Regions from separate parts of the Homo sapiens genome. Here regions 2, 3 and 4 are each linked to region 1. The links are contacts of gene promoters, found by promoter capture Hi-C in human tissues and cell types (Jung and others, 2019). All regions are on one chromosome and are shown on one strand. Each heading gives the region's core, a stretch centred on a gene start or on the middle of the fragment in contact. The rest is flanking DNA. Distances are from core to core; before and after follow the strand shown. Region 1 holds the start of AP2S1 (adaptor related protein complex 2 subunit sigma 1). Region 2 overlaps FBXO46 (F-box protein 46). Region 3 holds the start of SNRPD2 (small nuclear ribonucleoprotein D2 polypeptide). Region 4 holds the start of LIG1 (DNA ligase 1).

Region 1 (5,369 bases), core at 1,508-4,007:
CTGGAGTGAAGTGGCACACTCTCAGTTCACAACAACCTCTGCCTCCCGGGTTCAAGTGATTCTCGTGCCTCAGCCTCCCAAGTAGCTGGGAGTACAGTCACACGCTACCATGCCCGGCTAATTTTTGTCCTTTTAATAGAGATGGGGTTTCACCATGTTGGCCAGGTTGCTGTTGAACTCCCAACCTCAGGTGATCCACCCACCTCGGCCTCCCAAAGTGCTGGGATTATAGGCATGAGCCACTGCACCTGGCCTTAAATTTATTTATGTTATGTCATTTAAGTCCATTTTTCCTGCTAGACTGTGAATGCTGTGAGGGTGGGGGCAGTGTCTGTTTTCTTGCTGCAAATGCATTCATTCATTCAGCAAATGTTTATTGAACACCAGAGTTGTGCCAAGTATTAAGTTGAACACTGGAGATCAGGACTGGGACTAAGGGGAGGCAAGTGACGTGTTGAGGGCACAAAATTTAATGAGGCACATATTCTCAGTCCTGTGTAAGACAGGAATTGGCATCTAAGAGTGAGGTCCTTTTAAAATTTTGCAACCTGGACACTTTGCTTGTGTCATCCTAGTATCAACCCTGTTGGAGACAGAAAAGTACACAAGACAGAAATGATCTCTGGCCTCTTTTTGCCCCTATAATATTCAACAACTATGTGTTGGTTATTCTGCCAGTACTATACCTTAAATTTACATAATTCTACAATACATTTTGTTTTATTTATTTAATTTATTATTATTATTTCTTTGAAATGGAGTCTCTCTCTCTCTCTGTCCCCCAGGCTGGAGTGCAGTGGCACGATCTCGGCTCACTGCAACCTCCATCTCCAGGGTTCAAGTGCTTCTCCTGCCTCAGCCTCCCAAGTAGCTGGTATTACAGGCAAGTGCTACCAAGCCCGGCCAATTTTTGTATTTTTATTAGAGGTGCTGTTTCGCCACGTTGGGCAGGCTGGTCTCGAACTCCTGACCTCAGGTGATCTGCCTGCCTTGGCATTCCAAAGTGCTGAGATTACTGGAGTGAGCCACCATGCCTGGCATGCTTTGTTCTTATTAGGGCCAATCTCCCCTCAGTACTAATAGTAATAACTTTATTGACTGCTTACCATCTGTCATGTTCTAGGTAATGAAGATACAGTTATCAGACAGGGTCCCTGCCCTCAACAACTCACTACCTAATGAGAGATCTAGACAAACATACACACATACTCATAGGGCAAATAAAATAATTTTTAAAATGTAATAAAGGCCATTTAAAAAATCACGCCTGTAATCTCAATACTTTGGGAGGTGGAGGAGGGAGGATCGCTTGAGCTCAGGAGTTCAAGAGCAGCCTAGGCAACATAGCAAGACCCTGTCTCTACAAAAAGTACAAAAAATTAGCCAGGTGTGACGGCATGTGTATGTAGTCTCAGCTACTCGGGAGGCTGAAGTGGGAGGATCACTTGAGCCCAGCAGGTTGAGGCTTCAGTGAGCTGAGATCATGCCACTGCGCTACAGCCTGGGTGACCAAGGGAGACCCTCTTTCAGAAAAAAGCAAAAACAAAGACACACCAAAAAAACACTAAACTAACTGCTGACCTGGAGGGTTTTTTTTTTTTTTGACAGAGTTTCGCTCTTGTCATTCCAGCTAGGGTGCAATGGTGTGATCTCGGCTCACTGCAACCTCTGCCTCCCAGGTTCAAGCAATTCTCCTGCCTCAGCTTCCCGAGTTGCTGGGATTACAGGCACCTGCCATCACACCCAGCTAATTTTTATATTTTTAGTAGAAATGGTTTCACCGTGTTGGCCATGCTGGTCTCGAAGTCCTGACCTTAGGTGATCCACCCACCTCAGCTTCTCAAAGTGCTGGGATTACAAGCATGGGCCATCATGCCCCCGCCAAACTAGAGATTTTTTTTTTTTTTTGGAGTCTCTCTCTATTGCCCAGGCTGGAGTGCAGTGGCGAGATCTGGGCTCACTGCAACCTCTGCCTCCGGGCTTCAAGTGATTCTCCTGCCTCAGCCTCCCGAGTAGCTGGGACTACAGGTGCGCACCACCATGCCTGGCTAATTTTTTGTATTTTTAGTAGAGATGGGGTTTCGCCATGCTGGCTAGGCTGGTCTCGAACTCCTAACCAAGTGATCTGCCTGCCTCGGACTCCCAAAGTGCTGGGATTACAGGAGTAAGCCACCGCGCCGGGCCGGTTCAAATTTATGCTTTTAAACTGTTGTCTCCCGAGAGACACACGCAACGTATTTTAAGCAAAACACTGGCTTGGTGTTGTGGTGGCTCATGCCTGTAATCCTGGTGATTTGGAAGGCTGAGGGTCGCTTGAAGCTGAGTTCGAGATCAACCTAGGCAATATATCTAGACCCCTGTCTCTATTTTTAAAAAAATTAAAGAAATCACTGGATGAGGAATGGAAAGACATTTTCTATCTCCCCAGGACAGTTTTTTAAAATTTAAAACTACTATTCCCAGCATGCCCTTCTCCCCTGGGTGGGGGGAGGGGACCTAAGAGAACTACATTTCCCTGAATGCAACGCCTTCACCGCTGGTTCTTCAGCATCTCGGGAATTGTAGTCCTCTGTAAAGATGTTTGTCCACAAATCCCAGCATGCACTTGGGATCTGACTCGTTTGGTAGGAAAAGGACTGGCTCTGACTCTTCACCCATCTTCACCCAGGCTGGCCCCTTTGGTGAAACTACAACTCCCAGGGGTCTGTGCGCGAGAAGGCAGGCGGGTTTTTCTACCGGAAGTCCGCTCTAGCTCTGGGCCCTACAACTGCACCCTGAGCCGGAGCTGCCCAGTCGCCGCGGGACCGGGGCCGCTGGGGTCTGGACGGGGGTCGCCATGGTAACGGGGGAGCGCTACGCCGGGGACTGGCGGAGGGGGGGCCCACGCGTAAATAGCCGAGGCTGGATCGGGCGCTGACAAGTCCCTTCTCTGCCGCGGATGGTCTGGGTCAGGCGCGGGCTCTGGGGATTGGGACCGATCCAGGGCCGGGAAGGAGGGCACAGGGCGGTGATTCTGCGCGCGGGGGTTACCAGGGGTCTCGCGGCGACGGGCATTGGGGGTGGTGTTCCAAGGGGAAAGGGCTGTGCAGGTGGGAAACGTTGTAGATGGTTGGAAGCTTTGAAACGAGAGGAAACTCGTGAGACACAGTCTTGTGGGTAGCGAGAAGGCATTGGAGGTGGGGAGAGGGCGTCCGAAAGAGGAAGGCGCTCTGGAAGTGTGGCGGGAGCGCTGGGACGAGAACGCGAGACCTTGGAAAAGGGGAGGGAGGTTTTCTTGATGGGAGGAGTCTCTAGAGACAAGGATCTGATTGCAGGTGGAGAGGGGATGTTGAGACAGGGGCAGGAGACTGCCTGTGAGAGAGGGATGATCTCAAGAAGAGACCTGGCACAGGAAACCAAAAGGAGGCAACTGTAGGGAATGAAACTTAAGGGTCTGGGAAAGCGCTGTAAAAGGAGAGAGGACCTGGAGGTAAGATGGACACTCGGAAAGAATGGGGAGCAACTGAATAGGTCTTTCCAAGAGGAGAGATCTTGTGGGGTGGGGAGTAGGCTTGAAAGTGTGAGACCTGGGGAGGAATCTTTGTTGGGGCAAAGACTCAACATTGGATTTAGGAGTGCCCCTATCCCCCAGGTTGGGGCTTTGGATCTAGGAAAGGGTTCTTTGGGCTGGAAGTTGGGAAAGAAAACGAATGAGAAAGAGTGTCAGAGCGGGGGCGGAGTCTCCTCCAGGAACAGGGTCCTTGGAGGCAAAATGTGACCTTTTGAAGAAGGGAGGAAGCTTGGGAGTGGGACAAGGGATGTCACCAGTAAAAAGCCCATTGAGGCCCCAAGGAGGGGAACTGAGACTGAGAAAGTGGAGGTCAAAAGGGAACAACTCCAGAGGAGGGGGATTGGAGACAGGGAAGGTTGGGGGGCATCTAGAGGGGACAGCAGAGGCGTGAGGATGCAGAGATTCAGGACGGAGGGGACTTGAGATTCCAAATGGGAAGAAAACAGGGAGAGGTATACAAGGGAATTTGGGAGTAAGAGGCAGAGCTTTTTGTCAACTCTGTGGGTTTGCTTCTAGTTCTCCTAACTGTGTGAATATGTCTCCGGCTCTGCTCCCAGGCTGTGGCTGCCTGGTGTAGGCCCCCCAACGTCCCTTCCTGCCTGGGACCCCTGCCCTGCTAGGAAGTGGTTTTCCCTGGCTCAGCAGGAGTTCTTGGAAGGAGAGTGTAACATCCTGTTCCGGTCCAGTTTGGTTGGTTGGGGGAGGGAGGATAGAGTGTGTGGAGAATGAGGCTTAGGAAAGACTCTCAGGCTGGGGCGGTGACTCATGCCTGTAATCCCAGCACTTTGGGAGGCTGAGGCAGGCGGATCACATAAGGTCAGGAGTTCGAGACCAGCCTGGCCAACGTGGTGAGACCCCGTCTCTACTAAAAATACAAAAATAAGCCAGGTGTGGTGGTGGATGCCTGTAATCCCAGCTACTTGGGAGGCTGAGGCAGGAGAATCGCTTGAACCCGGGAGGCAGAGGCTGCAGTGAGCCGAGATTGTGCCACTGGCCTAGGCGACAGAGTGAGACTCTGTCTCAAAAAAAAAAAAAAAAAAAAGGCTGGGCACAGTGACTCGCGCCTGTAACCCCAGCACTTTGGGAGGCTGAGGCAGGCAGATCACAAGGTCAGGAGTTCGAGACCAGCCTGACCAACATGGTGAAACCCTGTCTCTACTAAAAATACAAAAATTAGCCGGGCATGGTGGCATGCGCCTGTAATCCCAGGTACTTAGGAGGCTGAGGCAGGAGAATCGCTTGAACCTGGAGGTAGAGGTTGCAGTGAACCGAGACAGTGCCACTGCACTCCAGCCTAGGCAACAGAGTGAGACTGTCTGAAAACAAAAAAGAAAAGAAAAAGACAGGACTAGAGGGCTCTCTTTCCTAAGAGAGAAGGCTCCCACAAGTTGGGGTCAGGTGGTTCAGAGCAAAGCCTTTGGACTCCCACCTCTGCTTTCTGGCTGTGAGACTTCCTTTCCCTAAATCTCAGTTTCCTCATCTATAAAATGGGCATGAGCATGCCTGTCTCAGACAGAAATGGGCCCAGAACTTCTAATGGAGTAAGCTTTGGCCATGGTTTTCTGAACATCACATAATGGAAAATATAATGCTGCTAAGAGCTGGTTCTTATGTAACACTTAGTACGTGCCAGTCACTGTACTATACCTCTATGTTTTTGTTTTTGTTTTTTTGAGACAGCGTCTCGCTCTGTCACCCAGGCTGGAGAGCAATGGTGCAATGTCAGCTCACTGCAACCTCTGCCTCCTGGGTTCAAGTGATTCTCATGCCTCAGCCTCCCGAGTAGCTGGGATTATAGCCGCCTCCCCCCTGCCCCCCA
Region 2 (5,589 bases), core at 2,119-4,618, 1.1 Mb after region 1:
AAACAACAAAAAACAAAACACACACTCACAAAAACAGAGTTCTGCTACAAAGCTATAAATGAGGGCAATTACTTAGCCATTCTCTGCCTCAGTTTCCTTATCTTCAACACGAAATTAAAAATAGGAGATAGAAGAATCAAACAAGTTCATATTTGTAGAGTGCTCGAGTATTGACTGCTGTTGTGATTATCATTTTCTAATATATTCATGTTGGTTCTGACTGTTTGTTTGGATGTCTGACCCCTTTCCCATGAGCCATTCCTGGGGAGCTCAGTGTCACCTGTGTGTTCCAGCGCCCAACAATGGCCAGCATGCAGGACCACAGTGAATGTCAGAGACAAGTTTTTGCAAATGCACCATGTATGTATGTATGCTAGGGATGTAAATATGTGGATTATTTAATTGTTGGGGGCATTCAACCAAGGGTGTAGATTGAGTGGTTCAGGTCCTTACTAATTTTCCCAAGCAGTCTTTTCTTAGAAATATGTTGTTTTCCCATATCAATTGTGGATTTAACAAACTTTCCCTTGTCATTTGTAAGTTTATGGCTGTCATGTGTAGAGATGGTCGTTTTTTGCTTTATCTATTTGGAAGCCATAGTATTTGGATCATGTATGTTGAGAACTTTTGTGTATAATGGGTCACTTCCACCTCCCTCCCCCAGCCCTAGGGACTCATGTAGAGAAGTAAATAATTGGTCATTTTGTTTCGTCATCATCCATTGCTTTTGTCAGTTTATTTATTTTTTATTTATTTAATTTATTTTTAATTTAATTTAAGACAGTCTCGTGCTGTCACCCAGAGTGGAGTGCAGTGGCCTGATCTGAGCTCACTGCAGCCTCTACCTCCTGGGCTCAAGCAATCCTCCCACCTCAGCCTCCTGAGTACTTGGGACTACAGGCACGTGCCACCACACCCTGCTAATTTGTGTATTTTTTGTAGTGATGGGGTTTCACCATGTTGCCCAGGCTGGTCGCAGACTCCTGAGCTCAAGGGATTGTGTCCCCCCTCTGCCTCCCAAAGTGCTGGGATTACAGGTGTGAGCCACCGTGCCTGGCCAAGTTTTTTTTTTTTTTTTTTTAAGGGGTAATGTTACTCCTCTACTTGTCTCTTGGTTCGTGTTTTCCCAGCCAGTTTTTTGCCGTCTTTTGATTTTCCATATTTTTGGTTCACAATGTTTTACAATGAATAGATTTTCATGGAGTAGTTGCTGAAGGCTGACCTAGTGTAGGGCCTTATGCTGGGCTCAGTGTGGGGGAGTTAGAAGATCCTGTCTCAGGCCTGGAGAGAGACCCACCCCAGACGATGACCCAGAGTAGGCAGGGAAGAGGGAACCCAGAGGTCCCCTCTGGGCAGGTGGGTGATTTCCAGGAAGGGAGTTGGAGAAGGCCTCTCTAATAAAACTGCATTTGAACACAGACCTGAATGAAGTAAGGAATTGAGCCTTGCAGAGGGGGAATGTATTGCAGTTGGTGGGAACAGCAAATGCAGAGACCAGGGAAGGCAAGAGCCCGGTAACTTTGAGGAATAGACAGCAATGAGCCCACCGCATGGACGCCCTGGGTGAAGCCTGACCTGGCCTAGGGGGATTGGGGGTGTCAGCTTCTTAGAGGAGGGGTGGTCGAGCTGAAACCCCAGGGAATATATAGTGAAACAGTAGGGCACAGTGACTAGGAAATCAGATTCCCTGGCTTCATATCCCTGCTCCAGCTCACACTCCAGCTCTGTGTGACCTTGTGGTCAGGAGACCTGCCCTGCGTCAGTTTCTTCATCCATACCGTGGAGACGATCACTCCTACCGGGGATCAGATGGGTCCTGAGTATTCTATGTATGCCAGATCAGGTGCCCACCAGGGTGCACTGGGGTATTGCCTGCGGGGCGGAGGAGTGGGGAGGGATGCGACTGGACAGGTGGGGTACCTGGGTGTTTTCCAGAGGGCACTGGGGAGCCATGGCAGGTTCTCACCAGGATAGGGACGGGTTCAGGTTTATAGGACTGTGCTTTAACAGGACTTTTCTGGCTGCTCTTTTGTACTAAGTGAGGCAGGTTTGGGGCGCCTGTTTGGAAAGGCTGAACTGGCAGCTCCGAATGGCTACACGGCTTGAGCCTTGAACGCCAGGCCTAGAGGCTTGTTTTCAGTTGCCGTGGGAACCTTCGTAGGGTTCTGTCCATTTGTTTTTCAGGGTGGGGTTATCCCGATGCCCAATTCCCCCCGCGGAAATCCTCAGCCCGCCCCCCGCCCCCACAGTTCCCAACCAAAGCTGGATACTCTGATCTCTCCGCCTGCTTCCTTCCGCCTTGGTGTTCTTAATCCCCGGGCTGCCTGGCCCTTTAAGTCTCAAGCGTCAATCAGGGCTTCTGTTCGAGGGGACGTGGTGTAATAAGCCTCCCCTGGAGTGTCGTGGCCTTTGCCCTGACCTTGTTCCGTTTAGCTGGACGTTGGGAGTTGTTCCACGCTCCCTTGCATCCGGCTGTGTCTACCCCACCACCCACTCCCATCACCTCTCGCCTACTCCTCCCTATTTCGAAGTTGGGCCCCTTCGCCAAGGCCTGCCTTATATGGGCACGGCCCCGAATGGCGGCCGCTCATTGGCTGAGAGCGTCACGCGCGCGTCTGTCAACAAAAGGGCGGAGGGAAGCTAGTTGCTAGTCTGCCCGCGCGGTGGCCGGAGGGAAGGAGCGAGGGGGCGGGCCCTTTTACCTTTCGCGCGCATGCGTGTGGGCTGCAGCCTTCTCCCGCCGCCTGGGGGGGCTGCGGGTGAGGGCTCTTTGGGGGCGTGTGTAGGTTTCGAGGGTCACCTGAGGGGTTTGGAAGATTTCTTTGGGGGGGCGGTTACAAGATTTGGGGGTTCCTTTTCCATTTGCAAAATGTTCTGGGGCTTGGGGAAGTTTTAACGTGGGTTTAGGGGATACTTTTGGGGTTCTCTCGCGCTTAAGGGGCACCTTGGAGTTTGGGTTCGTTTGTAATGCGGAAGGTTCGGTTGTGTTTTCGGGATCGGGTTCCCTTTGTGTTTTGGAGTGTTTGTTGGGCATAGAATTTGGGGAGCTCCCGGAGAGACAGAAGCAAAGAGCCCGAGAGTACCAGTCCTGGAGGTGGAATGTCTGGGCTCGCGTCTTGACTTCCTACCTGTCTTAACCCGGACAGGAGATTTCACCTGTGTCTCATCGGGAACTAGGCATTAATAACACTACCTGCTTCCTAGGGACCGAGGAGGATTAGGAATTGTTAGCGCAGTACCTACCTAGTAAGCTCGCAGCGAGCGTGCAGTAAGCACATGTCTGCTATTGTAACATTTGTGAGGTTTCTTTGTTTTTTTTTTTTGGCTTTGTGAAACATTTTTATGGTTTAAGATTCATCTTAAAGTGTTAGGGAGCTTTTGTGTTTTCAAAGAGTTCGTCTGCTGTTGGAGGCTTCTAGTGGAATTGGGAGATAATGGAGGAGGGTTGGGGGGAGTATAGGATTCCGGGAGAGTGATTGTTTATGACATAGTTTGGGGAATTGCTGTGTTGGGATCTGTGAGAGATTGACTGAGATTCGGCCCTTCAGTGCTGGAGAGGATATTTTTAGGTTCGGTGGTTTAAAGTAGTATTTGAAAGCTTTTCGATATTTGGGGGAGGACATTGAGATGCTGGGGGTAAGGTTGGAACTGATTAGGGGACTTGAGGGGGTGGCCAGGTTGTAGCAGGATGGCATCTGTAGAGACTGGCTTTTGCTGTGTTAGCCTGCCTCCCTGGGCAGTTGGTTATACAGGTCAAGTATCCCTTACCCGAAAATCTTGGGACTAAAAAGTGTTTCGGATTTTGGATTTCTTCGGATTTTGAGTATTTGCATTATACTTATCAGTTGAGTATGCCAAGTCTGAAAAATCTGAAATGCTCTAATGAGCATATCCTATCAGTGTCATCTTGGCACTCAAAAAGTTCTGAATTTGGGAGCATTTTGGATTTTCAGATTTGAGATACTCAACATGTATGTGAATTGGTGGTTGGTAAACAGCCATCTATAGGTTTTGGAGGCTGTGGAGTGATATTTTTAACACTGAGCTGAGATTACAGCAGGGACTGTAAGTATTTGAGGGGTAGGTGGGATTGGGGATTATGGAGTGGAGATAAAGATTCTTGACATGGGGATTCTCTGTGTTTACTGGTACCTGTGAGTGCTTGGAGGCTGTCTGGATTTTGTTTTGTTTTCTTTCTTTTTTTTTTTTTTTTTTTTGAGATGGAGTTTAGCTCTTGTCGCCCAGGCTGGAGTGCAGTGGCAAGATCTCAGTTCACTGCAACCTCCGCCTCCCGGTTCAAGCTATTCTCCTGCCTCAGCCTCCTGAGTAGATGGGACTACAGGCGCGCACCACCACGCCTGGCTAATTTTTGTATTTTTAGTAGAGACGGGGTTTTGCCATGTTAGCCAGGCTGATCTCGAATTCCTGACATCAGATGATCCGCCTGCCTCGGCCTCCCAAAGTGCTGGGATTACAGGTGTGAGCCACTGTGCCAGGCCTGGAATTGTTTGAATTTAGAGGGATGGTCTGTACTGCAGGAGTTGGCAAACTTTTTCCATAAAGAGCCAGATAATGGGTATTTTAAGCTTTGCAGGCCATGTGGTCTTTGTTCTGCTATTCAGCTCTGCTGTTGAAGATGAAAGCATCCATAAACAAATGAGCATGTTTCAATAAAACTTTATTTACAAAGACAGCGAGCTGGATTAGGCTTCTGGGCCATAGTTTGCTGACCTCTCTGGCCTGTAGGCATGTGGAAGTTTCAAGGTTTAAAGGGTCATTTTGGTTTTGAGCTGTCTGGAGGGAGATGAGCCAGAGAAAGATTGAGGCATATGTTACTTAGTAGGTTCAAACTGCAGTGAAAGTGATCATGTCGGACTCATGCGCAAGATTGCCTCCAGATTAGGTCATTCACATCAAGTCATTCCAAAATAAAATAGTCATTAACAGAGCCCTAAATTGAAGAGTCCAGAAATCAAGTTGAGAGCCTCTTTTTGCTCCGGACCCACTGTAATCTTAGCTATGTCACCCTTCCCCACTCTGAGCCTCTGTTTATCTGTGTGCAGCTTGAGGAGAAAGCTAGGCTAGAACAGGCACCCTCGTGTTTTCTTTCTTTTTTTTTCCCAAGATGGGTTCTCTCTCAGTCACCCAGGCTGGAGTGCAGTGGTATGATCACAGCATCACAGCTCACTGCAGCCTCCACCTCCTGGGCTCAAGCGATACTCCCACCTCAGCCTCCCAACTAGCTGGGACTACAGGTGCGCCACACCCCACCCGGCTAATTTTTGTATCTTTTTTCGTAGAGATGGATTTTGCCCAGGCTGGTCTCAAACTCCTGGGCTCAAGCAATCTGCCCACCTCGGCCTCCCAAAGTGCTAAGATTACAGGCACAAGCCACCACACCCGGCTTTGTTCTCTGTTTTTTAGAGGGTCTCACTCTGTCACCCGGGTTGGAGTGCAGTGGTGCCATCATTGCTCCCTGCAGCCTGGAACTCCTCCTAGGCTCTAGAACAGGCCCTCTTACTCCGCGGGTCCACGGCTGTGCTTTAGGGAATCCCCTGTACTGTCTTTGCAAGGGTGTGCATTTTTCTG
Region 3 (5,346 bases), core at 656-3,155, 1.2 Mb after region 1:
TGTGCAATGTGTATAACCTCTCTGAGCCTCAGTTTCCCCATCTGCATAATGAAGATCATATTGGTACCCACCTTATAGGGCTGTCTGTTGCCTATGCCTAGCACACAGTAAGCTTTTGGTGGGGGCATTAAGGGGGGCAGTACAGCCTGGTGGTTTGTTACCAGCATGGAGTCTAGAGTCCGATTAACTCCAGTCAGAGCCCCAGTTCCTCCTCTTAGCTTCTTTGGGATCTTGAACAGGATTCTTATTTCCCATTCCCTGGAGGGCTAGGGGGTCAGGGACTGGAGGTGGGTCCCTTTACCTTTCTGACTTGGAGATTTCCCGGGCTGCCCGGGGTTCGCACAACCAGCAGGGGGCGCAGATAAGTGCTCCAGAGACGCTGTGGATCCAGTTGTCCCACCACCCTCCGCAGCCGGGCTTCGGGGAGGCTTCCGATCAATGGGACCTTGGGAAGGAGGTGGGATAGGGAAGGGAAGAATGAGAGCAACCCCCCCATTTCAACCCTACCCCGGGCGCCGTCACCCGCGAGGAGCCCCGGGTTCTCTTCCTAATCTGCCGCCTCCAGCATCGGAGACTTCTAGGATAAATCCAAGGCTCAGGAAAAGTCCTTCCAAGACCATCCGGTCCAGCCTACCTCAAACTTGATGGGGAAATCGAGGCCCAGTGAGAGAGAGGGGAGATGGAGGAAGGGACTCTTCCAAATAGTTGACTAAAGGCGTAGAACCCTGAACCCCCCCGTCTTACTATTTCAGACCTTTCCTCTTAAAAGGAAGCTACTGTTGCAGAACCAGCCCGAAGCCTTATTCCTTTGGTAAGGGTCATGCGCTCAGATGACGAAGACGGTGGCATCTGCGGTTAGGGCCGTACGCTAAAGCCACGTCAACCCTGGGTAACAGCGGGGAGGGAATGAGGGTCCCCGCGGTGCCCGGGTCCCCGCCCAGCCTCACCCGCAGCTCCCGGCCCAGCGGCAGCTCCTCAGTCCTGCGGTGCCAGCCGCTCCAAATGGTGTAGAACGCCGAGCCCACGGCCAGCGCCAGCAACAGAGGCAAGAGCCGAACCCGCGGTAGCAGGCGGCGCTTCGGCGGCAAGAGTGGCTCCATGAGGCCACGTTCCCCCAGCCGCAGGCGGGGTCGCCCGCGGCCCCCGGAACGCATGGCCGCTTTGCCCTGAAACCTGTACCAGACCACGGATTGAGTTTAGGCCCAGCCAAGTTCCTCCCCATGGAATCGGTGGGCCAATAAGCAACAGCTGCGGCTGCACCAGCCCACCCCACAGCGAGCAGCGAAACCAATAAGAACTACGGTCCTGAGGACACGCCTCCCAGCCTCCCTTAGGTATTGGGGTTGGTTCCCCTGAGAATGGCACGACCCAAATGGGAGCGCAAGAGAAGTAGGCTCCGCCTTAGCGGAGGAGGGAAAGCCAATGAACAGCGTTTGATCATGGAAAATATTCGATCTCCCGGGCGCAGGTCCATGCCCCTTCCGGATGTAGGCAGGGGATTGGTGGCGCAGGGTCGGAAAGATCAGTAGATACGTCAGTAACGCGTCCCAGAGGGAAGAGGGGCGGTGCCTGTCTCCGAAGCGAGGAGCGGATTGGCTTCACGGAGGCCGCGCCCCCGAAGTCACGGCCGGCGGGCATTTGGAAATAGCTTGTCATTTCCCTCCTTCAACCTGTACCATTCTTCAAGAAACGGTTTGAATCAGACTGCCTTTCCTTTTGTCTTCATTGTCATAAACATCTGCCCCCGTGTGGTTCTGACTGGCCGCGAACCCCTACCCGAAGCTTTTATTCCATCATTGTGCACCGTTGGTGGGGAATGCTGTGGCAACAGGCCACGCCTCCACTTACTGGTTGGCTTTGCGCAGGCGCCAACGGAAGTGGGTCGCAGGAAGAGGAAGTCCCGCCTCTCTCTCCTCAGGCAGCAGCAACGCGGAGGAAACGGGAGTGAACGGAGAGCGTAGTGACCATCATGTGAGGCCGGGCTAGGCTTAGGCGGCGGGAATGAGGTTGAGGGTGGATATTTGACCGATTGAGTGTGGGAAGGGTTGAGCAGAGCGGGGGGGGCAGGGGCAGATGTTTTAGGGATGCAGCGTCCTGCTTTTCTCCTGATGAGTTTGAGAACGGGCGTGGGGCCTTTGACGCATCGTGACTTCGGGAGAGGGGACAGCTTTATCAGATAACGCCCTGGGCTGGGCGCGGGGGCTCATTCCTGTGATCCCAGCACTTTAGTAGGCCAAGGCGGAGCATCGCTGGAACACAGGAGTTCGAGACTAGCCTAGGCAACATAGCGAGACCCCCGTCTCTACAAAAAAAAAAAAAAATTTAATTATGAAAAACATGTTTTAAACGATAACGGGAGTGGTCCTAGATAATTAGTCCTATTGAAATGAATGTTAAGGGGCAGCGATTTTACGAATACTGGGGGAGGCCGAGCGCGGTGGCTCAGGTTTGTAAATCCCAGCACTTTGGGAGGCCGAGGCGGGCGGATCACCTGAGGTCAGGAGTTTGAGACCAGCCTGGCCATTGTGGTGAAACCCCGTCTCTAACAAAAATACAAAAATTAGCCGGCCGTAGTGGCGGGCGCCTGTAATTGCAGCTATTCGGGAGGCTGAGGCCGGAGGATCGCTTGAACCCGGGAGGCGGAGGTTGCAGTGAGCCGAGATTGCGCCACTGCACTTCCAGCCTGAGCGACAGAGTAAGACTCCATCTCAAAACGAAACAAAAGAAATAAAACGAATAATGGGGGAGGGAAGTTAGGACTTTTAGAAATAATTATTTGAAATAAGGGACTTATCTTGATCATTTGAGCTGGAGACGGGTGCGTTTTCGACTTGATTCACAACTTACACGGATAACGAACGAGTCATTGACATGATTTTGCGCATTTATTAGTGCAGCAGATATTACATTGAATGCTTATGTATCAGACACTGCTTAAGCTACATAGGATACATCAGTGAATGAAACCTCTAGTCCCCAAGGGAAAAGAAAAATCTTTTTCTCTTTTTCTTTTTTTTTTTTTTTTTGAGACGGAGCCTTGCTCTGTTGCTCAGGCTGTAGTGCAATGGTGCGATCTCAGCTCACTGCAACCTCCGCCGCCTGAGTTGAAGCGATTCTCCTGCCTCAGCCTCCCGAGTAGCTAGGATTACAGGCACCCACCACCATGCCCAGCTAACTTTCGTATTTTTAGTAGAGACCAGGTTTCACCATGTTGGCCAAGCTGGTCTCAAACTCCTGACCTCAAATGATCCACCCGCCTCGACCTTCCAAAGTGCTGGGATTACAGGTGTGAGCCACCGTGTCTGGTCGGGGTTTTACTTTCTACACTGAGATGGGGGGAGGATGGGAGGGTTTTCTTTTGTTTTGTTTGTTTGAGATGGAGTCTCGCTCTGTCACCCAGATTGGAGTGTAGTAGCACGAGCTCTGTCTCCTGGGTTCAAGCGATCTTCCTGCCTCAGCCTTCAAAGTAGCTAGGATTACAAGCATGCGCCACCATGCCCAGCTAATTTTTTTTTTTTTTTTTTTTTTGAGACGGAGTCTCGCTGTCGCCCAGGCTGGCGTGCAGTGGCGCAATCTCGGCTCACTGCAGCCTCCGCCCCCTGGGGTTCACGCCATTCTCCTGCCTCAGCCTCCCGAGTAGCTGGGACTACAGGCGCCCGCCACCTCGCCCGGCTAATTTTTTGTATTTTCAGTAGAGACGGGGTTTCACCGTGTTAGCCAGGATGGTCTCGATCTCCTGACCTCGTGATCCGCCCGCCTCGGCCTCCCAAAGTGCTGGGATTACAGGCGTGAGCCACCGCGCCCGGCCTAATTTTTTTTTTGAGATGGAGTCTCACTCTGTAGCCCAAGCTGGAGTGCAGTGGCGCAATCTTGGCTCACTGCAACCTTCGCTGCTGGGGCTCAAGCGTTTCTGCTGCCTCAGCCTCCCAAGTAGCTGGGACTAGAGGGATGCGCCACCACACCTGGTTAATTTGTTTGCATTTTTAGAAGAGACAGGGTTTCACCATCTTGCCCTGGGTGGTCTCGAACTCCTGAGCTCAGGCGATCCACCTCGCGTCGGCCTCCCAAAGTGCTGGGATTACAGGCGTGAGCCATCGCATCTGGCCTAATTTTTGTATTTTCTAATTTGTATTTATTTATTTTTTGAGACAAGAGTCTCGCTCTGTCACCCAGGCTGGAGTGCAGTGGCATGATCTCACTTCACTGCAACCTCCGACTCTCTGAGTTCAAGCAATTCTTCTACTTTAACCTCCCGAGTAGCTGAGATTACAGGCGTGCACCACCACGCCTGGCTAATTTTCTGTTGGTTGTTTTTTTTATTGTTGTTTTGTTTTGTTTTGTTTTGTATTTTTAGTAGAAATGGGGTTTCACCATGTTGGCCAGGCTGGTCTCGAACTCCTCACATCAAGTGATCAATCCACCTTGACCTCCTAAAGTGCTAGGATTACAGGCATGAGCCACTGTACCCATACCCTGGGAGGGTTTTGAAGAGTGACATGTTATGATTTAGGTTTTAGCACAACCCCCTCAGACCACTCTGTGGAGAACAGACTGTCAGGGAACGTGGGTGGAGGCAGAGAGACCAGAAAGATTCCAGGACAGAGATGACAGAGGCTTAGGCCATGGTAAGAAACGGCCATTTCCTACAGATTTCATGTAGGATGTGAGGGAAAAAGAGGAATCAAGTTGACAAAAGAGTTTTTGCCCAGAGAACTAGAAGGATGGAGTTACCATCAAAGCAGATGGGGAACGCTGTAGATAGGGTAGGCTTGGGTGGTTGGGTGATCTGGATCCCGACCTGAGACATGCAGAGTTGAAAATGTCTGGCTGGGCACGGTGGCTCACGCCTATAATCTCAGCACTTTGGGAGGTCGAGGCGGGTGGATCACAAGGTCAAGAAATCAAGACCATCCTGGCCAACATGGTGAAACCCCCTGTTTACTAAAATACAAAAATTAGCTGGGCGTGGAGGTGGTGCATGCCTGTAGTCCCAGCTCCTCAGGAGGCTGAGGCAGGAGAATCGCTTGAACCCAGGAGGCAGAGGTTGCAGTGAGCCGAGATCACATCACTGCGCTCCAGCCTGGGCAACAGATCAAGACTCCGTCTCAAAAAAAAAAAAAATGTCTGTTAGGCATCTAGCTGATGATACTCAGAAGGCTGAACAGGAGGACAGATGTGGTGGGACAAGGTTGGGGAGACACTGAAGCCAAGGCCCTGATCACCCATCCTCACAGCTCCAGCCTCTCAACTCCAGCCTCTCTCACTTATTGGTTCCATGTTTGTCCATGCAGGAGCCTCCTCAACAAGCCCAAGAGTGAGATGACCCCAGAGGAGCTGCAGAAGCGA
Region 4 (5,543 bases), core at 301-2,800, 1.3 Mb before region 1:
TGAACTCGGCCCACGAGAAGAAGGCCCGCTCCCGCAGCTCCTGCTCCTCCTGCCCCGCAGCCGTGCCGGGTGGGGGCTCCGGCCGCTCCATCCTGGGGGCCTGCGTGGAGGAGGGGAGAACAGGTGGATATCAGACCCATTCCCACCCGGGGTATCTCATCTACTCCATTCTTGGCCTGCCCCGTCGGTTGCTGGTGCCTCTATCGAGGTGGGTAGCCCGGGGTCGGACGTGCCTGTTTTTCTCCAAATATATAAATATCAACCTCCATCCTATCTTTGGCCTCCTCCCACCGCCTTATCCCTGGTTCACTTGGAGCCTGTCATCTTGATTCCTAATTCCAACTCGTCTCCTCCTCCGCAGATGTGACCCTTAGGTACAGTTGGAATCTCTCCTCCCAAAATACGACCCTTAAGCTCAGATGTCCCTTAAGGACATCTCCTCAAATGTGTTCTCAAATTCCAGCTAAAACCTCCTCCCCTTCCAGCTGTGTCTCTCACCCAAGAGTAACTTCTAACTCTCGTATTCATCTGGAACTCCTCCTTCCATGTGCCAACAGTTGGCTGTAACCCCTCCAAAGACGCTCCATCTCCAGATGTGCTCCCACATCCAGGCCACGGACCCCTCACCCGGTCACATGCTTCATGCACCTGTGGCTCCGCACTCCCCAGATGTGCCTCTGGCGTGCAGCTGTTGCCCCTTCCCCCGATTATGACCCTATGGCTCGCCACATGCAGCTGTAGCTGGGGCTTCCCTGAGACACTCTCATCTCCAGATGTACTCCCCACATGCAGTTATCCACGCTTCGCCTACAGGTGTGTGCCCCACTTGTGGCTAGTTCTCCTCGGAAGTGTCACCAGTATTCACCTGTGGTCCCCTCCTCCTCAGATGCGGCCCCCAGTCCAGCTGTGGGCCCCTCCTCCCAGTTACATCCACCATCCCCCGCAATATGCATCTTCGTTCTAGACATGGCCCCTCGTCCTCGGATGGGCTCCTTCACCCCAGATGCTCCCCCCACGTCCAGCTGCGCGTCTCCCCTCGAGCAGCCCCATCCAGCCCGCTCCCGACCCTCCTACTCCCCCCCTCCCCGCCCGCTGCGGCACCTTCCAGCCCCGCCGTCCCACCTAGCTGTGCCTCTCCCCTCCCCAAGATGTGCACCCTTCCCGCCCCTCCCCACTCACCTACCCGCCCCGGAGCGGCGTCCACCTCCCACAATGCCCCGCGCCCAGGCCTGGCCCGGCCCTTGCTCCCGGGATGCCCCGCGCGGTCTCCCGCCTCTCTTCCCGCCGTGCCTCGCGGGGGCGCTTCCACCGATTCCTCCTCTTTCCCTGCCAGTCACTCCTCAGACCCTCAGCCACACCCGCTCATCCAGGGCGAGGGAAAGCGCGGGCATTTTCCCAGTGTGCTCTGCGGGAGGGCTCGCCCCACTTCACCCCTTTTCCCGCCCTCCTCCCATTCGGGAGACTACGACTCCCAGTGTCCTCCGCGCGACGGCGGCGGTGCGGACGGTGCCCAGGTCCCGCCCCTAGGCTCTGCCCCGCCCCCGCCCGCAGACGTCTGCGCGCGAATGCCGTGGCGCGAACTTGGGACTGCAGAGGCGCGCCTGGCGGATCTGAGTGTGTTGCCCGGGCAGCGGCGCGCGGGACCAACGCAAGGCAAGTGGGGCCGTCCGCAAGCAGATGGGAGGCGGAGGGCGGCGGGTGCGCCGAATGCTTGGGGCCTATGCTTCGCCATGTCGGGGTGTCTGCAGAGGAGTGGGCGTGGGGACGCTGAGGCTGCCGAGAGCGCGGTGGAGACGGAAGAGCGCGGGCTGCGGGCCGCCGGAGAGTGCAGAGAGGTGTCTCCCAGAGGGAGGGGGGCCAGGTAGAGGGTAGACGAGAGACAGAGACAGTTGGACAGGTCCTCTGAGAAGAGGCCTTGAGGTGCGAGTTCACCTGGAAAGGGGAGAGGCCAAATGGAACTGAGGGGCGGGGCCGGGGGGGGGAAAACTGTGTGGGCGGGGCCAGCTGGAAATCGGAAGGCCCCCCGAGGGGGCGGGGCTATCTGGGAGGGGGAGGGGCTGAAGGGAGCTAAGGGGCGGGGCCGGGGAAAAGATTGCGTGTGGGCGGGGCCACCTGGAAGGGGGAGGTGCCAAGGGTGGGGCTGGCTGGGAACCGGAAGTGCTGAGGGGGCGGGGGCCACCTGGAAGTGCTGAGGGGGCGGGGCTAGAAGAAGGTAAATCGCGGGCAGCAGCATCACCTGGAAGGAGTGGGCCCTACTGGAGGGAGATGGGTGGTGTCAGGGAGAGGTCAGTGGTAAGGTCCAGGTCTAGGTAAAGGGCTCGTAAAAGATGGAGAATCATCTGAATGGGGAGACGTCTGGCCTAATGTATGCTTGATAAAGGGATGGAGCTTACCTCTTGTTTTTACTTTTTATTTTGAAATAATTATAGATTCAAGGAAGTTGTGAAAAGAGTATATCCATCTTCCCCTAATGGTGACATCTTATGTAGTCCCAATATCGAAACCAGGAAATTGACATCAATACAGTTCTGTTAACTAGATTACAGACCTTGTTCAGTTTTCACCAGTTTGTGTGGTGTGAGTGTGATTGTGCATCTGTGTGCCCGTGCAGCTTGATTCCTTGTATAGATTTGTGTAACCCCCATCGTAATTGTGATATAGAACAGTTCCCTCTCCACATAAGAACTCCTCCCCAGGCCCCTGGCAACCGCTAATGTGTTCACCATCTCTAGTTTTGTCATTCGGAGATTGTTATGTAAATGGAATCATATATTATTAGGATGTTACCTTTTTTCTACTCTGCACAATGCCCTGGAGGTCCACCCAAGTTGTTGCTTGTATCAGTGCTTCGTTTCTTTTTATTACTGAGTACTGTTTCATCCTTACTTGATATTTTTCCTGTCATTATCTCTTCATTTTGGTAACCGCTTTATTGAGATATAATTCACAATTATACAGTTTGCCCATTTAAAGTGTACAATTTTGCCCATTTAAAATGTACAAGTCAGCGGTTTTCAGTGTATTTAAAGTGTATTTCAGTGTATTTAAAGTGCCCATTTAAAGTGTACAAGTCAGTGGTTTTCAGTGTATGCGCTGAGTTGTGCAGTTATTACCATAATCGATTTTAGGATATTTTTATCATCCCCCCAAAAAACTCCTATACCTTTTATCCATCATTCATTTAATTTTAACCCTGAACAATATTCTACCATATGGTATTCCAGTAATGAGGGAACCAGTTCCCTAAGGGTAGACATTCCACCAGTTTCCAGTCTTCTCTCATTACAGTTAGTGCTGCAGCAGGTAACTTTGTGCCTCACTTGGTCCACCTGTGAGGGTCTCTGTGGGCCAAATACACAGAAGTGGGGTTGCCGTTCCGATAGAGACGCCAGGTGGTCCTCCAGAGGCATCAACCAGTTTGTTCCCCCCAACTCAGCAGTACACAGAGTTGAGAAGCCAGCCTTGAGTACCGTGGTAAGGAGAAAGGAACGTGGGCTTTGGAGCCAGCCACACCGGGTTTTGAAGCCTTGCCTGAACCCCAGCTATGTTCCTCTGTCCTCATTACCTTCATCTATAAAGTGGGGATGATCTCACCTGTCTTGGAGGGCTGACTTGAGGATTGAGGGTATTTGAGAATGTGATCAGCCTGTCAGGCATAGAGTAGGCTTCCCAGTAAACGCTTATGTATTTCTCCTTCCCTTGCAACTCAGTCTGGTGGTTAAGAGGTGAGCTGTGGAGCAGGCCGACCTGGGGTGGAACGTACTATAGATGCAGGTTAAGTTCCTTTGAAAACCCCTCTGTGCCTTAGTTTCTGTAACAGAGTTGTTGTGGAGAGTCAGTATAATTGAGAATGTCAAGTACCTAGGCAGTTGAGCACTCAGGAGGGATCGTAATAGTTTTCTCCTTTGCCCTCAGGATTTTGGTGGCTAAGTCCCTAACCTGCTTTCTGTGTGAACTGTTTGGTTGAAGCATTGCTTACTTCCTGCTCCCCAACTGGCCCTGAGAAACTCTGTTTGGAAATTGCTGAGTTTCTTTTTTGTTTGTTTTTTTTTTTTTTTTTTTTTTTTTAAGACGGGGTCTCGCTCTGTCGCCCAGGCTGGAGTCCAGTGGTGCAGTCTCAGCTCACTGCAACCTCTGCCTCCTGGGATCAAGTGATTCTCCTGCCTCAGCCTCCTGAGTAGTTGGGATTACAGGCTGGCACCACCATGCCTGGCTAATTTTTTGCATTTTTAGTAGAGATGGGGTTTCACCATGCGGGCCAGGCTGGTCTTGAACTCCTGACCTCGTGATCCGCCTGTCTCAGCCTTCCAAAGTGCTGGGAGTACAGGCGTGAGCCACAGTGCCGGCCTACTGAGTTTTTTGATTCCAAAATTGAGTTTGAGTTGTGGTGCCAACATGTGGCGGCCAAGGCTGTAGAGAGTAGTGGAGACTTAGAGGCGTGTGGTGCGGGACAGAGAGTACTGATTCCAGAAAACGAAAGGGGACCCCATGGGTTGAAGAAGATTTCTGTGCAAAGGAAGGGAAAGTCAAAGAAAACCATTTCTGTTGCCCAGGCTGGTCTGAGCTGGTCTCAACTCAAGCAATCCACGCAGAGGTCCTGCTAGTCCTTTTTTAAAAAATATATTCATAGTGGAAGGAAATATAATGTAAATAATTATAATTACATAATTATAATGTGTAATTTATTTTCTTCCATTATAAATATTAAAGATATAGAAAATTTATAATTTTTTATATCTTTAATATTTATAATGGAAGGAAAGGCTCAGTTCCAATTAGAAGTTTACAAGAATAAAGTCGTAATTTCTTTCCTGTCAAATTTCATAGACCACTTGAGTTCTGCTCTTGGACTCCTGGGTTTTGTGGACCCCAGATTAAGAACCCTTTCTTTTCTTTTTCTTTTTCTTTCTTTTTCTTTCTTTTTTTTTTTTTTTGAGACAGAGTGTTACTCTGTTGCCCAGGCTAGAGTGCATGATCTCACTGCAACCTCCACTTCCTGGGTTCAAGTGATTCTCCTGCCTCAGCCTCCCCACTAGCTGGGATTACAGGTGTGCACCACCATACCTGGCTAATTTTTGTATTTTTAGTAGAGATGAGGTTTCACCATGCTGGCCAGGCTGGTCTCGAACTCCTGACCTCAGGCGATCCACCCGCTTCGGCCTCCCAAAATGCTGGGATTATGGGCAGCAGCCACCACGCCCGGCCTAGGAACCCTTTCATTAGAGTTACTCTAAACTGTGGAAGCCCCAGTGACTGTTATTGATTTCATTAAATAACAGACTTTTTAAAAAAGTATTTAATTTTTAAAAATATATTGTGAAGGGGTAACGTATTCCAATTGTTCTGCCTGCAAAAGCATGCATATTAAAAAATCTCCCTCCAGCGTCTGTCCCTCCTGAGGCGACAGCATTACCAGTTTTTTGTCTTCCAACTGAGATGTTCTGTACATATACAAGATATGTGGATACATTTATAGTCTTTCTTTTGTTTTTGTTTTTTGAGATGGAGTTTCACTCTTGTCCAGGCTGGAGTGCAGTAGCACA

The links. Contacts are between HindIII fragments. The study calls those that stand out against the background at their distance.
Region 2: a fragment that was not itself captured here is called in contact with the fragment with the promoter of AP2S1 in region 1 in 1 of the 25 tissues and cell types used here (dorsolateral prefrontal cortex).
Region 3: a contact is called between the fragment with the promoter of SNRPD2 here and the fragment with the promoter of AP2S1 in region 1, in 1 of the 25 tissues and cell types used here (dorsolateral prefrontal cortex).
Region 4: a contact is called between the fragment with the promoter of LIG1 here and the fragment with the promoter of AP2S1 in region 1, in 1 of the 25 tissues and cell types used here (dorsolateral prefrontal cortex).

The regions. Positions count from the first base shown.
Region 1 is chr19:46,848,234-46,853,602 of GRCh38, reverse strand. AP2S1 (adaptor related protein complex 2 subunit sigma 1) reads left to right here and starts at 2,757. Exons shown (of 5, transcript NM_004069.6): 1 at 2,757-2,839. The coding sequence starts at 2,837. RefSeq lists an enhancer at 2,433-2,742. The HindIII fragment of the contact is 18,087 bases long and covers 1-3,447 here.
Region 2 is chr19:45,714,435-45,720,023 of GRCh38, reverse strand. All of the region lies in intron 1 of FBXO46 (F-box protein 46), which reads left to right. Among named protein-coding and RNA genes, the nearest start is that of FBXO46, 14 kb to the left of the region's middle. RefSeq lists enhancers at 2,235-2,284, 1,727-2,397, 2,398-3,068. The HindIII fragment of the contact is 7,183 bases long and covers 1-5,589 here.
Region 3 is chr19:45,688,512-45,693,857 of GRCh38, reverse strand. SNRPD2 (small nuclear ribonucleoprotein D2 polypeptide) reads left to right here and starts at 1,905. Exons shown (of 3, transcript NM_001384647.1): 1 at 1,905-1,971; 2 at 5,292-5,346. The coding sequence starts at 1,970. QPCTL (glutaminyl-peptide cyclotransferase like) reads right to left here and starts at 1,192. Exons shown (of 7, transcript NM_017659.4): 1 at 948-1,192; 2 at 302-445. The coding sequence starts at 1,154. RefSeq lists enhancers at 485-1,035, 1,561-1,690, 1,701-1,830, 1,649-2,369. The HindIII fragment of the contact is 8,059 bases long and covers 1-5,346 here.
Region 4 is chr19:48,166,351-48,171,893 of GRCh38, reverse strand. LIG1 (DNA ligase 1) reads left to right here and starts at 1,550. Exons shown (of 28, transcript NM_000234.3): 1 at 1,550-1,653. It overlaps ZSWIM9 (zinc finger SWIM-type containing 9), which reads right to left and starts at 1,214. Exons shown (of 4, transcript NM_199341.4): 1 at 1,180-1,214; 2 at 1-100. The coding sequence starts at 91. RefSeq lists silencers at 1,022-1,161, 1,962-2,011, 2,042-2,111 and an enhancer at 1,409-2,068. The HindIII fragment of the contact is 31,276 bases long and covers 1-5,543 here.